Regions from separate parts of the Homo sapiens genome. Here region 2 is linked to region 1. The links are contacts of gene promoters, found by promoter capture Hi-C in blood cells and fetal thymus (Javierre and others, 2016). All regions are on one chromosome and are shown on one strand. The core of a region is centred on a gene start or on the middle of the fragment in contact, and the rest is flanking DNA. Distances in the headings are between cores, read along the strand shown. Region 1 holds the start of EHD3 (EH domain containing 3). Region 2 overlaps CAPN13 (calpain 13).

Region 1 (7,440 bases), core at 3,265-5,764:
CACTGCACTCCAGCCTGGGTGACAGAGCAAGACCCTATGTCCAAAAAAAAAAAAAAAAAAAAGGAAAAGAAAAAGAAAGAAAACAGTGTATATATAGTATATAGCTGAAGCTCCCTGTGTACCCATCCCCAATTCCATTTCCCTTTTTTGTCCCAGAGAACACCCCATTCCTGACTAGTGTTTTATGTTCCTTTGCTTCTCTTTTTAAAAACTTCAATGCACACATATGCATCCATGAACAACAGATAGTGGTTTTTGCATGACCTGAAACATTAATGAAATTGTATGATTCTATGCATAATAGCCTACTTCTGGCTTTATTCACTCAACACCATATTTTGGCATAGGTAGCACCACTTCCCTCATTTTTCTCATCTGTAGAGTATGTATTTTTTGTAACTTTCATTTTAGGTTCGGGGGTACATGTGAAGGTTTGTTATATAGGTAAACTAGTGTCATGGAGGTCTGTTGTACAGATGATTTCATCACCCAGGTGTTAAGTCTAGTAACCAATAGTTCTTGCTTTTTGTTCCTCTCCTTCCTCCCACCCTCCACCCTCAACTAGACCCCAGTGTGGTATATATTTTATATGAATGTGGCACATTTATCCATTTACTCGGTGAAGGACATTTAGTTGTTTATAAATTTTTGCTGCTACAAATAATGTTGCCATCAACATTCTTAAGACTTATCTCCCTATGCACATGTGCAAGAGTTTCTCTAGATCACGCCTTGAAATAGAATGGAAGGAGATAGGTCATAGGACATGCACATCTTCAGCTTCACTAAGCAATGCCAAACTGTTTCCCAAAGTATTTGTGCCAGCCTGCACGCCCATCAGCATTTTATGAGAGCTCCCATTGCTCTACATCCTCACCAACCCTACCATCCAACTTTTTATTCTTGCCATTTTGGTGGGTATGGAGTGTTAGTGTGGTTTGGCATTTCTCTAATTACTAATGAGATGCAACATGTTTTCTTGCGTTTATAGGGCATTCATGTAGCCTCTTGTAAAAGACATTTTTGTAGCTCTTGCCAAGTTTTTTTCTATTGGAATGTTTGTCTTTGTTATCGATGCACAGCCATTAGTTCTATATTCTGGATGTGCTTTCATGGGTTTTTGTGTATAGGAAATATCTTTTCACTCACTTTTGTATTTTTAGTTGAACGAAAGTTTTAAATTTTGCTAGTGCTAAACTTAGTTTTTTTCATTTTTCAGTTTGTGCTTCTGACGTCTTGTTTAAAGAACTCTTCCTGACTTTGTGGTGATATATATGCAATCTCTATTGCAACTTCTGTATATGTCAGGCTTCCAAATTTCCTGGCTATTTACTGTGTTGTTATTCTGTTGGTCTCTGTGCCAAAACCATATTAACCACTGTAACTCCATAACAATGTCCACTAGGGCAAGTCCTCTTCGCTTAGTTGTTGCCATTGCTATGTTACTGTTGTCCTCTTCTCTTCTCTGTTCTCCTTTTTCTGCCCTCCTTCCCCTTCCACCTCTCCCTCTCCTCCTCCTTATTCTTCTTATCTTCTTTCTTCTCCTGGAATATCTAAGCTTTTTTTTACTATTGCTCTATAAGTTATACATTTTAGAATCACCTTGTCAATTTCCATGGAAAACCTTATTTAGATTTTGATTTCAATCATATCTCTCAATTATTGAATTTATCAATCATGTTGTAAAGAATTCACATGTTTGTGACAAGGAATCCTTCCACAATGGAACATGGCATGTCTCTCCCATTTACTTAGAACTTCTTTAACATCTTTCTATAAAGTTTTATTATTTTTCACATAAAGATCTTGCATATCTTTTGTCAGATTTATCCGTAAGTTTTTGTTCTTTTGAACACAGTATCTTTTTTGAATATTATCTTTCATGACCTTTTATTGCTAGTCTATAGAAATGCTCCATTAGTTCCTTTTTTAAACAGATAGATTTCAACTACTCAAGACTGAGACGGGAGTAGATGTGTCAACACGCACTTGGTAAATTAGATATTCGGAACAGACATTCAGCAGTAGACAATGGCATGGCCGTACTGATTACAAAATTCTTGAAATACTTCCATAATGGGGCCCCTTGATTTCTTTCCTGTCACGCTGGCCATACTGACCTCTCTCCGGGGACAGGCTCAGATCTCTCCAAGGTCCAGACGCCACTGTATTAACACCAGGCGTGGCACGGGGCCGCAAGCCTTGCTCCACTAGGAAGGCCAGTGTCTGTTCCGGGTGTTTGATTCTCATGCCTTGTGAGTTGTTAAATATCTTTAATATTACTCCTTAGGTTCGTATGTTGGTAGTAGCTAAACACCAAGGGTGAAATATTAATCTGAGTGAATTCTCAACAAGAGATGATCAGTTTTGGGGTTCAAGGAGGGAGTCGGGAGATCTGAGATGTAACTAAGGAGATTCTATTCAGCACTGGCCTCTGATAATCCCCCCTCCCCTGAAATCCCTGCAGCTTCACCACACTCCTCTTGAAGCTCCTGCAGGCACTTCAAACGCAACACGTTTTAGATTGAACACATTATCTCTGTCTGCTAAATCAGCTCTCTCTCTGCCTCCCCTAATTAGTGGAAGAGCTTCTCCAATGATCTTATCCCCTATGGTAGAAAATTCAAAATCATCCTAGACTGTGCCTCACCCTTATGTCCTCTTTTTTTTATCACATACCAAGATCTGACAATTCTATTCCATGAAAAAAATCTTTTGAGTCTGACCTCTTCTCCAATCCCATTGCAGCTGTCTCCTAAGTTTTGGAATAGTTTCCTAAATGGTCTCTTGGCCTCTGTATTCGTCTGTTTTCACACTGCTGTGAAGAAATACCTAAGACTGGGTAATTTATAAAGGAAAAAGGTTTAATTAACTCACAGTTCTGCATGCCTAGAGAGGCCTCAGGAAACTTACAGTCATGGCATAAAGGGAAGCAAACACGTCCTTCATAAGGCGGCAGGAGAGAGAAGTATGAGGAACCAAGTGGGAAGAGCCCCTTATAAAACCATCAGCTCTCACGAGAACTCACTCACTATCATGAGAACAGCATGAATGAAACTGTCCCTATGATCCAATCTCCTCCCACCAGCTCTCTCCCTAAACGCATGGGGATTATGGGGATTACAATTAGAGATGAGATTTATGCGGGGACACAAAGCAAAACCATATCAACCCCCAACCTCTTTTGCCCCTCCAACACTGCTCTTGGCATTCCAGTTCCTGCCTGGTCCATAGCCTACTCCTTCTTCATCTGTGGAAGGGAGGGTAGTGGGAGTCATTAGCCTGGGCAGGGAGGAGTGTTTTATCACTACACTGTTTAGAATGGTGCCAATACAAAGCACATCAACTTTCAGCAAGTTTATTATTGGGTTTAAATTCTCTACACACGATGCACTGCTTTTGCCTACACCTGGACAGTGTTCCCACTCACTCTCCTTAGTATGATGCTGGAGATAATATGATCTGCCATGAAGGTTAAATAAAGCAATGTTCACTGAGAACTTAGCCCAGGCCCCTGCACATGCTGAGCATTTTGTTAATGTAACAATGATTAGTAATAGCATTGCTATTGGTTCCCCATCTCTGGCAAAGCCTTTCATGCTTGGCCTCCCTCACTCTCTTTCACCTTCCTAAACCCTACACTCCAGCTATGCCAAACTGTTTACTCTGCCTTGGACACACCAAGTTCCTCAAGCCTTTGCAAATACTCCTTACGCTCCTAGAACAATGGATGTCAATTCATCATTTAGGATCCAGCTTACAGTCATGCTTTCCATGAAGCCTTCCTCAAATTAGCCACACAAAAGGAGTGACTCCTCCCTGTATTCCCATGACCCTCTGCTCATGCCTCCTCTTTAAAGCCTGCCTTCACTGGAGTTCCTGGAAGGGAGAGTCTGTTCAGCACTCATCTCTGTATCCACAGTCACCAAAATTGTAACTGCCCCATAATAAATTCCCAATACTTGCAGGGATTTTGCTTCTTGGCTTGTTTTGTTTTGCTGGAATGAATGAATAAGTAAATGGGAACGATTTTGACTTCACCCTAAGCCTAGCTAAAAGTTTGGGTAGTGACAGTTTTGGTTATTTTGTGTAACCTGATAGTGGATCCCCTTTCTATGCCAAAAAAAAAAAAAATCCCCCAATACTAGAGTACCTGTTTTCCTAGGGAATTGACCTCAGCAACTGAAGGAGAGGCGATTCAAAGCAGGGAGTGTGATGAATAGGTCAACTCTGTCCTCGCAGCCGTCCCTGAGAGGGCGCTGTTCCCAAATCGAAGCCCCAGAGGCGGAGACTGAGACACCGGCACTCTCCCACTGGACTGGGTCAGCATCCCTCTCCCCGCGCGGCCGCAGGTCTAGAGCTGAGCGCCTGCCCACAAACATGGCGGCGCCCTGCGCGGCTTCCCGTCGCCGCAACCGTGGGGCCGGCCCTGCCTTGCCAGTACTAGGGGACTTCCTCTGCGCGCCGGCTTCCTGCCCAGCTGGCATTTAAACCACCGCCTGGGGCTGCAGGATGCTGCTGCGGATGCAGAGCTGTCCGCGGGCTGGGCAGCGTCGCCGTCTCCCCTGAGCCGCCTCGGTCCGGCAGGAGCGGAGCCGAAGCATCCCTTGCTGCACGCAGGGCAGAGCAGGCGAGGGCTGGGGGCCGATCGGGGACCCCGGCTTGGGACCCCGGCATCTGGCAGTTTCCTTGCAGGTTCAACTTTAATTGCCAAGATTTCACCCCTCCTCCTCAAGCCCAGATTATTTATCCTCCCTCCGGCCTGGGCTGCTGGATGCAGCAGCGGCTGGGCTTGGTCCCAGGAGCAGGGAGAGTGCGCTCCCGGCCCTCCTAGCCGCGTGCCCGGGCCATGGTGCGGCTGAGCCCCGCGCTTGGGTGAGGCGGCGGCGCGGCTCGGAGCCCGGCGGACCGGTCCTACGGGACATCTTCCCCTGAGGAGGAGTCTTCCCCTGGGGCTGCGTGCCGGGGGCGAGCGGCGGCCGCGATGTTCAGCTGGCTGGGTACGGACGACCGCCGGAGGAAGGACCCCGAGGTTTTCCAGACGGTGAGTGAGGGGCTCAAGAAACTCTACAAGAGCAAGCTGCTGCCCTTGGAAGAGCATTACCGCTTCCACGAGTTCCACTCGCCCGCCCTGGAGGATGCCGACTTCGACAACAAGCCCATGGTTCTGCTGGTGGGCCAGTACTCCACTGGGAAGACCACCTTCATCAGGTGAGCCGGCCCAGGGTCCTGGCAGCCCACCCCGGAGCCCAGCGCCTAGTCCCTCCGGTCACTCCTGGTGCTCCATCCCAGACAGGGGACCAATGGGAAGCCTTCAGTTGAGGGCTCTGAAGAGATCTGTGTTTGTGCAGGCGTCAAAATCTTACCCCACAATTTTTGCTGGTCCCCCTTCCCATCCTACCCAATACCTGTCCACTCTACTTGGCCCTTGGCTGTGGTGGTCAACCTGAAGTATTCAAGTGTAAAGCCATTCCCAGTCTCCCCATCTTATGGATGATGAAACCGAGGCCCAGGAGGCACAATGGAAGAGCTCCTGGTCTCTGGAGCGCCTTATGTTGGTGGGGATGTCTTACGTCTTCACTTTTTAGCAACACATCATTCACGGGCAAAACCTCTTCCCTTGTTTTTCAAGGGGCTTGGCACTCACATGGGGGCCTCACAGTTGCAGCTGAGTTCTGATGGGTGCGGGCCTGGGAACGGAGGTGGCCTGGGGATGCTACTTGTCCTCCTTTTATCATTTCCTTCTCTAAAGCAGAGCTCCTGTGTATATATCTTGGAGACTCAACAGAAGCTGAGTCCAGAAGCAGAATGCTTTTTTTTTCCCCTTTCTCTTATTTGATCTTAATGGCTTAATAATAATATTAAAGACGCTTAGAGATGGAAGGGATATTGGCATTGTCTCATCCAGTTGCTGAGTTTGCAGGTGAGATAACCGAGGCGCAGAGAAGTTAAATGAATTGTGCAGAGCCATCTAAAGAGTGGGCAGCAGACCTGGGATGTTAAGTCCTAGATGCATGTGAGGAGATGCTTGGCTAAACGCCTGTAACTCTGAGAATGAGTCATCCATTCCCTTCAATTACAGAATCCTTGGGCTGGAGGGAGGCTCAAGAAGTCAATTTGTTCACCCTGCATTCAGAGAAGTCCACCAGAGGCCCTTCTTATCTTTAGAGAACAGGCTTCACTCCAGTCCTCAATCTTCCCAACTTCAAGGCCAGCCATTTTCTTGGCCCCTTTTATAGCCATTCCAAATTGTTGAGAATGCTGTGGCCCTCTGTCTTAAGACTCAGGCTCCCACAGCTTGAGAATGGAGTTTGGTGGCCCCCCAAAGTCAAGTGTGCTCATCTCCTGCAGAGGGTTTGGAAAGCAGGGGTACCCTTATTCCTATTCCTTGGCTGTTTGAGCATCCACAGCATGTGAAATGCTGTGCTTTGTTTGGTGAGGAGTGCAGAAAAGTTAACAGTCTAGTTACTAATTTTCTAGGTACTAATTTTCTCTAACATCCACCTTGTAACGCCAGCCTTCTGGAAGTAGCACCATGCTAATAGGTCATGTCTAAACACAACACCACATTGAGTTTGTCCTTGTGGAGTGCACAGCCTAGGGCTCAGCAGCTTTAAGAGGCCAAGTGATTTCTGAAGGAGTTTGGGAGGTGATGGGCCTGTTGGCTCTTGTATGTTTTATATTGATAGAACTGCAAGAGGCCTTAGAGATTAAACTAATCCATTGCTTCTTAACTTTCTATCTTTAGAAAAATGTACGTACATCCCAAATTTGCATATAATGTTGGGGGTCCAAGGGCCTTCTTTGGACTTTAGGGTGGGAACCCCTGATCTAAGCCATGCTTCTTGTTTTATTAAGCACCCATTGCTGCCAAAGGCACTTCAGAGCTGCCTGGGTTGCCTGCAGAGTTTCCTTTGTGAGCCCTGGCCTCCACTTGGCCCATTCATGCCTCAGGGGAAGTTCAGGCCATTTGCAGATGGCCCTTGCCCTCTCAGCCTTCCCTGGCTCTCTACACATATGGTATTTATAACCTTTCATACATTATCTGTAGCTTCTCCTTCCTGGTGTACAATCATTGACAAGACAACATCCATGCCTTAGCATCTCTGGGGCCTTGCCCAGGGTCTCGGCTATAGGAGGTTCCCAGTAGACATTTTGCAGAATGGGAGGGAAGATGGGGAGAGGTGAGGATCCCCAAGCAGCAGACAGGTTTGAGCGCCTTTTGTCTGAGACACTCTCCCGGCTTTGCCTAAGTCATCACTGGCTGTTAACTGGGTCTAAGAAAGTGGCAGAGTCAAATTGCCACAGATGATTCCTCATCTGAGGGAGACAGTAAGACCGGGAGAGGCAGATCGCTCTTCTTTCTTATCCTCCATGTGCAGTAGTTCCCTCTCCCCACTCATGTCAGCAACTGAATTTAGCTCATGCGTCAAAAGCTGT
Region 2 (7,440 bases), core at 2,679-5,178, 510 kb before region 1:
TTGTGGTTTTAGGTCGAACATGCAAGTCTTTAATCCATCTTGAATTAGTTTTTGTATAAGGTGTAAGGAAGGGATCCAGTTTCAGCTTTCTACATATGGCTAGCCAGTTCTCCCAGCACCATTTATTAAATAGGGAATCCTTTCCCCATTGCTTGTTTTTGTTAGGTTTGTCAAAGATCAGATGGTTGTAGATGTGTGGTATTATTTCTGAGGGCTCTGTTCTGTTCCATTGGTCTATATCTCTGTTTTGGTACCAGTACCATGCTGTTTTGGTTACTGTAGCCTTGTAGTATAGTTTGAAGTCAGGTAGCGTGATGCCTCCAGCTTTGTTCTTTTGGCTGAGGATTGTCTTGGCAATGTGGGCTCTTTTTGGTTCCATATGAACTTTAAAATACTTTTTCCCAATTCTGCGAAGAAAGTCATTGGTAGCTTGATGGGGAGGGCATTGAATCTATAAATTACCTTGGGCAGTATGGCCATTTTCACAATTGATTCTTCTTATCCATGAGCATGGAATGTTCTTCCCTTGTTTGTGTCCTCTTTTATTTCGTTGAGCAGTGATTTGTAGTTTTCCTTGAAGAGGTCCTTCACGTCCCTTGTAAGTTGGATTCCTAGGTATTTTATTCTCTTTGAAGTAATTGTGAATGGGAGTTCACTCATGATTTGGCTCTCTGTTTGTCTGTTATTGGTGTATAAGAATGCTTGTGATTTTTGCACATTGATTTTGTATCCTGAGACTTTGCTGAAGTTGCTTATCAGCTGAAGGAGATTTTGGGCTGAGATGATGGGGTTTTCTAAATATACAATCATGTCATCTGCAAATCAGGACAATTTGACTTCCTCTTTTCCTAATTGAATACCCTTTATTTCTTTCTCCTGCCTGATTGTCCTGGCCAGAACTTCCAACACTATGTTGAATAGGAGTGGTGAGAGAGGGCATCCCTGTCTTGTGCCAGTTTTCAAAGGGAATACTTCCACTTTTTGCCCATTTAGTATGATATTGGCTGTGGGTTTGTCATAAATAGCTCTTATTATTTTGAGATACGTCCCATCAATACCTAGTTTATTGAGAGTTTTTAGCATGAAGTGCTGTTGAATTTTGTCAAAGGCCTTTTCTGCATCTATTGAGATAATCCTGTGGTTTTTGTCTTTGGTTCTGTTCATATGATGGATTACTTTTATTGATTTGTGTATGTTGAATCAGCCTTGCCTCCCAGGGATGAAGCCCACTTGATCGTGGTGGATAAGCTTTTTGATGTGCTGCTGGATTCGGTTTGCCAGTATTTTATTGAGGATTTTTGCATCAATGTTCATCAGGGATATTGGTCTACAATTCTCTTTTTTTGTTGTGTCTCTGCCAGGTTTTGGTATCAGGATGATGCTGGCCTCATAAAATGAGTTAGGGAGAATTCCCTCTTTTTCTATTGATTGGAATAGTTTCAGAAGGAATGGTAGCAGCTCCTCTTTGTACATCTGGTAGAATTCGGCTGTGAATCCGTCTGGTCCTGGACTTTTTTTGGTTGGTAGGCTATTAATTATTGCCTCAATTTCAGAGCCTGTTATTGGTGTATTCAGGGATTAGACTTCTTCCTGGTTTAGCCTTTGGAGGGTGTATGCATCCGGGAATTTATCCATTTCTTCTAGATTTTCTAGTTTATTTGCATAGAGGTGTTTATAGTATTCTCTGATGGTAGTTTGTATTTCTGTGGGATTGGTGGTGATATCCCCTTTATCATTTTTTATTGCATCTATTTGATTCTTCTCTCTTTTCTTATTAGTCTTGGTAGCAGTCTATCAATTTTGTTGATGTTTTCAAAAAACCAGCTCCTGGATTCACTGATTTTTTGAAGGTTTTTTTGTGTCTCTATCTCCTTTAGTTCTGCTCTGATCTTAGTTATTTCTTGCCTTCTGGTAGCTTTTGAATGTGTTTGCTCTTGCTTCTCCAGTTCTTTTAACTGTGATGTTAGGATGTCACTTTTAGATCTTTCCTGCTTTCTCTTGTGGGCATTTAGTGCTATAAATTTCCCTCTACACTCTACTTTAAATGTGTCCCAGAGACACACTGTATCTGCCACTGCTAATGGCATGGCCACCTCTTCTCGGGGCCTCAGAAATCTCATCTGGACACCTTGCTTCCATCATACGATGGCTTTAGTAGCAGAAGCTCTAGGGAGCCTGGGGGGCAGGTGGGATTTGTGCCTGAGCCTTTGTCATTTGCTCTGTGAGGGATCCCACCCCTCCATCTGGGCACCAGCCATGGTCCTTGCTCACCTCCTCATCTTGCAGAGACAAAGCAACCCATCCCAGGACCCAAGTGTAAGAAGCTGGCAGGGGCAGGGTTTGTCTGAGATCGTCAGCCTGTCAAGCCCGCCCTGCTCTGGAGCCCTTTCTCAACTTTGGCTGAAGGACATGGGGAGTCCCAAGGAGATGCAGCCTCGGGGTGAGCTGGCTGGTCTGCCCTGTGCTGGGGCTAAGGATCAAGGTCCTGCCCTTCCCTGGGGAGACTGGAATATAATCTCCCCCAGCTCCAAGCAGGGAAGCCCAGGCCCCTCTGCCGTGGCCACCTGGAGCCTTTCTGAGCCTTCAGAGCCCCAGCATGACAGGGAGAATCAGTTTTTCAATCAAGCAATTGAGGACCCTGCCCCTTTAAATCCTGTTAAAGAGAAAATTAATGACTGGTCCCTGAGCAAAGCCCTGTGAGGGAAGAAATTGCCCTGTATCCTGAGAACACCAGTCCAGCCTGTGCAGACCCCTGGGGCTGCTCACCACTGACCCTAGGCCTGCAGAATCATCCATTTCTGCTTGTCCTCCAGGGTGCAAGCAGGCCCAAAAGGAGCTTGGAATGACATGTGGTTGTGGCAGCAAATTGTGCAGGTGGGCTGGACTTTCTACCTGGATGCCTGGGTGAAGGTCATCTTTGAATCCTGCAGGAAATGGCTTATTCATTCTTATGGATTTTCCCACTTATCAGAGTCTCTGTTGACCTGCCAGCCCCAGTTTTTTTGCATGCAGAAAATCTTATGCAACAGGGCAGTCTGACAGCCTAGGATTCAGGATCTTTAGATATTAGCTTTAACTCCAAAGTCCATGCTCACAAACATGGGCATCTATCCTGGCTAACCAAGCAGGGGACTGGGAGGCAAAGTGACCTGTCCCAAACTTTGCTGTGTGTCTGACCCTCTCGCTATTCAAAAGCATTAGCAAGAGGGGTTCAACTCCTTAGGCAGGTAGCTATTCTACTTGAAATGACTGTGGAGGCTTTACAACAGTCCCTGTGGATGAGGTCACTTGGGCCTGTTTGGTACTTGTATACAGCATGCCATCACTGCCGAGCACTGCCCTTGCTCCTGGCATGGGTGTGTGTGTGATGATGCAGCCCTGTCCACACCATCCTGTCCTCCGACCGTGCCACTCAGAAAGTCACACTCAGCAAGCTTCCCACCTTCCTGTCCTTTTGACACACCCATTTGCAACGATTCCCCTACTGGGTTGATGCATCCAGAAATGAGCTTTCCAACTGCAAATTCTTCTGAGCGGGATCTGGCCCAGTTATGCTGTGGAATCTCTTCCATCCTCTGTGGGCCTCACCTTTTTGAGACACCCAGTGACCGCACCATGGATGAGGAGAGAGTGAGGGAAGCGTCTGCCTTGCTGGGTACTTTTCCTCTTCCCCAAATGTATTTTTAAGACAGAATATGAATGAGAGACCTTTATGGGAAACATGTTTTATTTTTGCCATTTAGCTGTGAAATCATCAGGATCCAGACATAAGATAGTGTAATTATTCTGCAAACACCCAGTGGACAGCTCTTGTGTCACCCATAGCACCCGAGGGTGGTCAAAGTGGCTCATTCTGGCTCTTCCAAGAAATGAATCCAACTGGTGACAGGGGACTCAGAGACAACTTCTCTTCTCCTTTCCCACAGGGAGACATCTCCTGCTTCCTTTTCCAGGGCAACGTAGGCTGAATACATCCCAAAGTGCTCAGATGAGCTGCTTGGTGGCCACAGGCTTAACTGGGCCTGGGCCAGCCAAGGACCGAACCCAGGCTGTTGGGAGACAGCTTGGACTCTGTTTCATGCAGGGCTGGTTTAGATTTATCACAACCACCATACTGGGCAGCACAGCCTCTTAGAATGAGAGCCAGATTCTTGAGTGATCACTGGGAGCTTGTCCTAGAGAAAGACACGGGGGTGCAAATGCAGAGGGCCAAGGGTGAGTAAAGAAACTCCTTCCTTTGAGTGACCATGGAAGTGGGGCCCCATTCCAAAGATGCTGTTCTGGATCATCCCACAGTAAAGGAAGCACTGGCACTTCCTGCTGGCAAGGCTGACAGACCCCAACGTGCCCATGGCCCCTTAATGGATGACCCTACCCCATTCTTCAAAATTCCTTAAAGGGCACCCCCCCACCTGTCCTGCCCCAAGCTTGAGTTCATATCATAGCCCATTTTAGCACCTTGAGGGCTGGCACTGGAGTGGAGGGAAACTTGGGGGAGAGATGTTCCTCCCATCTCCAGGCAGGTTAGAAGGGCTGAGGCCAGGGGCTGCTATAGTAACAACAGCCCTGAGCTCTGTCCCATCCAAGCTCCAGATGGCTAGCTTTGGACTTCTGCAGAGGAGTGGTTTTTCTCAAGTGCAGGGGGCTTGGAATAAAGTGACATTCGTGCATAGTCATGTTTTCTGCAATAATCAGCCAGCTGCCCTACCCATGGGGTAAAGAGGCCTCAACTCTTCTTCCCTGCCTCCCTCCACCTCTCTTGTCTCTCAGACTACTTGCTAGTTTGCCTATTTTTTTTTCCATGAAAACTCAGTCCAAGATACATGGTTAGAAAATTCAAAGAGTACTACAAGGCACGAAGGAAAAATAGCAGGTTCTTGTCCCATTTCTATCCAAATTCCCCTCCCTAAACTCTTTCTTCTGATGTTTACCTCCATATTTCTAGGTAATGTGCTTATGCAGTTAATTCTTGATTTGTCAATTTTAAATGCCTATTGACTTCTTATGATGCAAGATGGGGTGGGGTTGCTTCTAACCCCCTTTCATGTCTACATCTTCCCTCCTTCTGATATATTTATGTCACATTTTTGTTAAATCAATATTCCATTTGTATTTTATTACAATTATATATGTACTGTTCACTGCTGAGTGAAAAAATACTCTAGGATCACATTTTCTCTCTTCTGTAACTCTTTATTCTTCCAGGAGTTAATAACTACCTCACTTTTTTGTCTGCTTAGTTTAAGTCATTATCCTACTAATTCTTCCAAAGCTCTCCAGCAGAATTTCAAAATCCCTCTGAACATTATTTTTTCTATAATTAAGCAATCTGATCAAAAATTGCTCCCATTTTCCCCAAAGGCCACCCCTCCAGCTCCTCTCGGAATGGCTCACTCTCTTGCTCTGCTGCATAGCGCTGGTCCTTGGACTTCCCTGTCTCTGTCTAGTGTTGGATCTTCTGTTTCCCGGATTCCAACTCTTCCTCCTCCTTGGTTTATGCCCTTGGAGTGTACATGTCGGTTTCCCAGTTGGATACATTTTTCTTCCAAAGCCAGCTCCAGAAGGCTGGACACCCTGGCATCTCAAGGTGCCTGGTAACCACCAGGTGTATGCTTGCCAATGGTGTTGAGTGTTTTCACATCACCAGAGGCACATCCAGACTCACAACTCTCAACTCAGAAGTATAGGAGAGTTTAACTTGAACTCTGACAGTTCCATCTGCCCTGGGGTGTCAGTCTTCAACCGAACATCTAGCCAGGTCTCTCGAAAAGAATTTCTTTTGATGAACAGAATGAGATTGGAGAGATGGATTTACTGGGCTAGAAGTAGACTCATCCTGCAGAAAATGGTTGTTGGTCTCAGTAAGACCAGGGCCACTGTTGTCATATTTCACCTAAATCCTGCAGAATAGGAGAAGGTGGCCCTTTCCTCAAGAAACTGTATTTTTATACAGTGGGAAATTGTTATAAATGACAATTTTGTTAGAATAAGGCATTTTACTGGCATATTGATAGATCAACATGGATGTAGATGACATTAGCTAGACAAACTCTCAGCAGGGTGTGATTTGCCGTGTATTAAACCTCTAGACTCTGAAATCAATTAAAATCAATACAGCCTCAAGTGTCCAAGGAGCACAGAGCAATGAGTTAAGTGTTAGCATTCTTTCAAGTATGAACTTTATATTTAAACATATTTTAACATATTTTAACATAGGTATTGCCTGCAATGTGACAACAAGGCATACACTTTGTTTAAAAGAAATATATATGATGGGAAGAGAGGAAGAGGAGTTCATCCCAGTTGCATATACCTATATCCCAATCTGCTAGGTCAGAGGAGAGCAGATGGGTTGAAGATGAGCCAGAGAGAGGAACAGAAGTATTCTTACAACAAAAGTATACCTCAACTTGCCCGGTGAGTCCAAGGGCAGATAAAAGACCTCTTGTACACAGTTTTGTAGGGAGTGACCTGGAAACCAAGTAGACTGGTGATGGAGCTCCAATAACCCTCATCTCTGGGAGAAGCTCGCTTAACTCAGGACAAAGACTTTGCTCGCTCCAGGGACACTTTGTAACACGGAGGATCAAGTGAGCAAGGAGAGGGACTTCTCTGGATCGAATCCTGGCTAACGATAAAAGTCTCTTTGCTGACCTCAGAGTGTTGGAACTCCTAGAAGAAACTTTGTAATAGCAAAGTAAGGGAATATTGGATAGAGTTGAAGTGACCAGGACACTTTCAACTTTTTCAAAAAAGTGAGGGAAATTTTCAAATTTTTCAAAAAAGTGAGGGAAAAATAGGCCTTCATAAGATAATATGGGTCATGATGTATTAGAGATAATAACAAGATAATATTAACTACCTGCCTTCCAGTACACCAAAGGGGAAGAAAATAGAGAATAGCTAAAATAGCAGGAAGACTAGGATGTAAGCTAATACTAACAAATGCTAGGATGAGAACAAAACAAAGGAAGGTATAAACCTGAAAGAATGATTTATTTCGGTTATTTGGGAGAAAGTTACCAACTAGTTTCTCCAGGGTAGGTGTTTCGCTTTGTGCTAAGGAAATAGCAACAAACAAGACATACCCAGGCTTATAGTCTAGCAGAGAATACTGACATCAAGCAAGTAATGAAAAGTGTGTTAACTCAGCCAGCTACAAATAGAAGTGAACTTCCTCAACCTGGCAAATGGTATCTATGAAAAACTCACAGTGATCATCATATTTAATGGCAAAGGATTGGGTGTTTTCCCCCAAGATCAGGAACACAAGGTTGTCTGCTTTGTACACTTCTATTCGGCATTGTATTAGAGGTTCTAGCCAGACAATTAGGCAAGAAAAAGAAATAAAAAGCCTCTATATTGGAGTGGAAAAATAAAACTTTATTGCAGATTACATGACTTTTGAATATATAAAATTCTAAGGAAGCCCTTTAAAAA

The links. Contacts are between HindIII fragments. The CHiCAGO score rates a contact against its expected background, and 5 or more counts as called.
Region 2: a fragment that was not itself captured here is called in contact with the fragment with the promoter of EHD3 in region 1 in 2 of 17 cell types (naive CD8 T cells and monocytes); the score reaches 6.6 in naive CD8 T cells.

The regions. Positions count from the first base shown.
Region 1 is chr2:31,229,638-31,237,077 of GRCh38, forward strand. It overlaps EHD3 (EH domain containing 3), which reads left to right and starts at 4,515. Exons shown (of 6, transcript NM_014600.3): 1 at 4,515-5,211. The coding sequence starts at 4,985. It also overlaps a transcript of CAPN14 not described here. The HindIII fragment of the contact is 24,555 bases long and covers 1,557-7,440 here.
Region 2 is chr2:30,719,062-30,726,501 of GRCh38, forward strand. CAPN13 (calpain 13) reads right to left here. Exons shown (of 23, transcript NM_144575.3): 23 at 3,710-4,175. Among named protein-coding and RNA genes, the nearest start is that of CAPN13, 85 kb to the right of the region's middle. RefSeq lists enhancers at 1,923-2,423, 2,424-2,924. The HindIII fragment of the contact is 993 bases long and covers 3,433-4,425 here.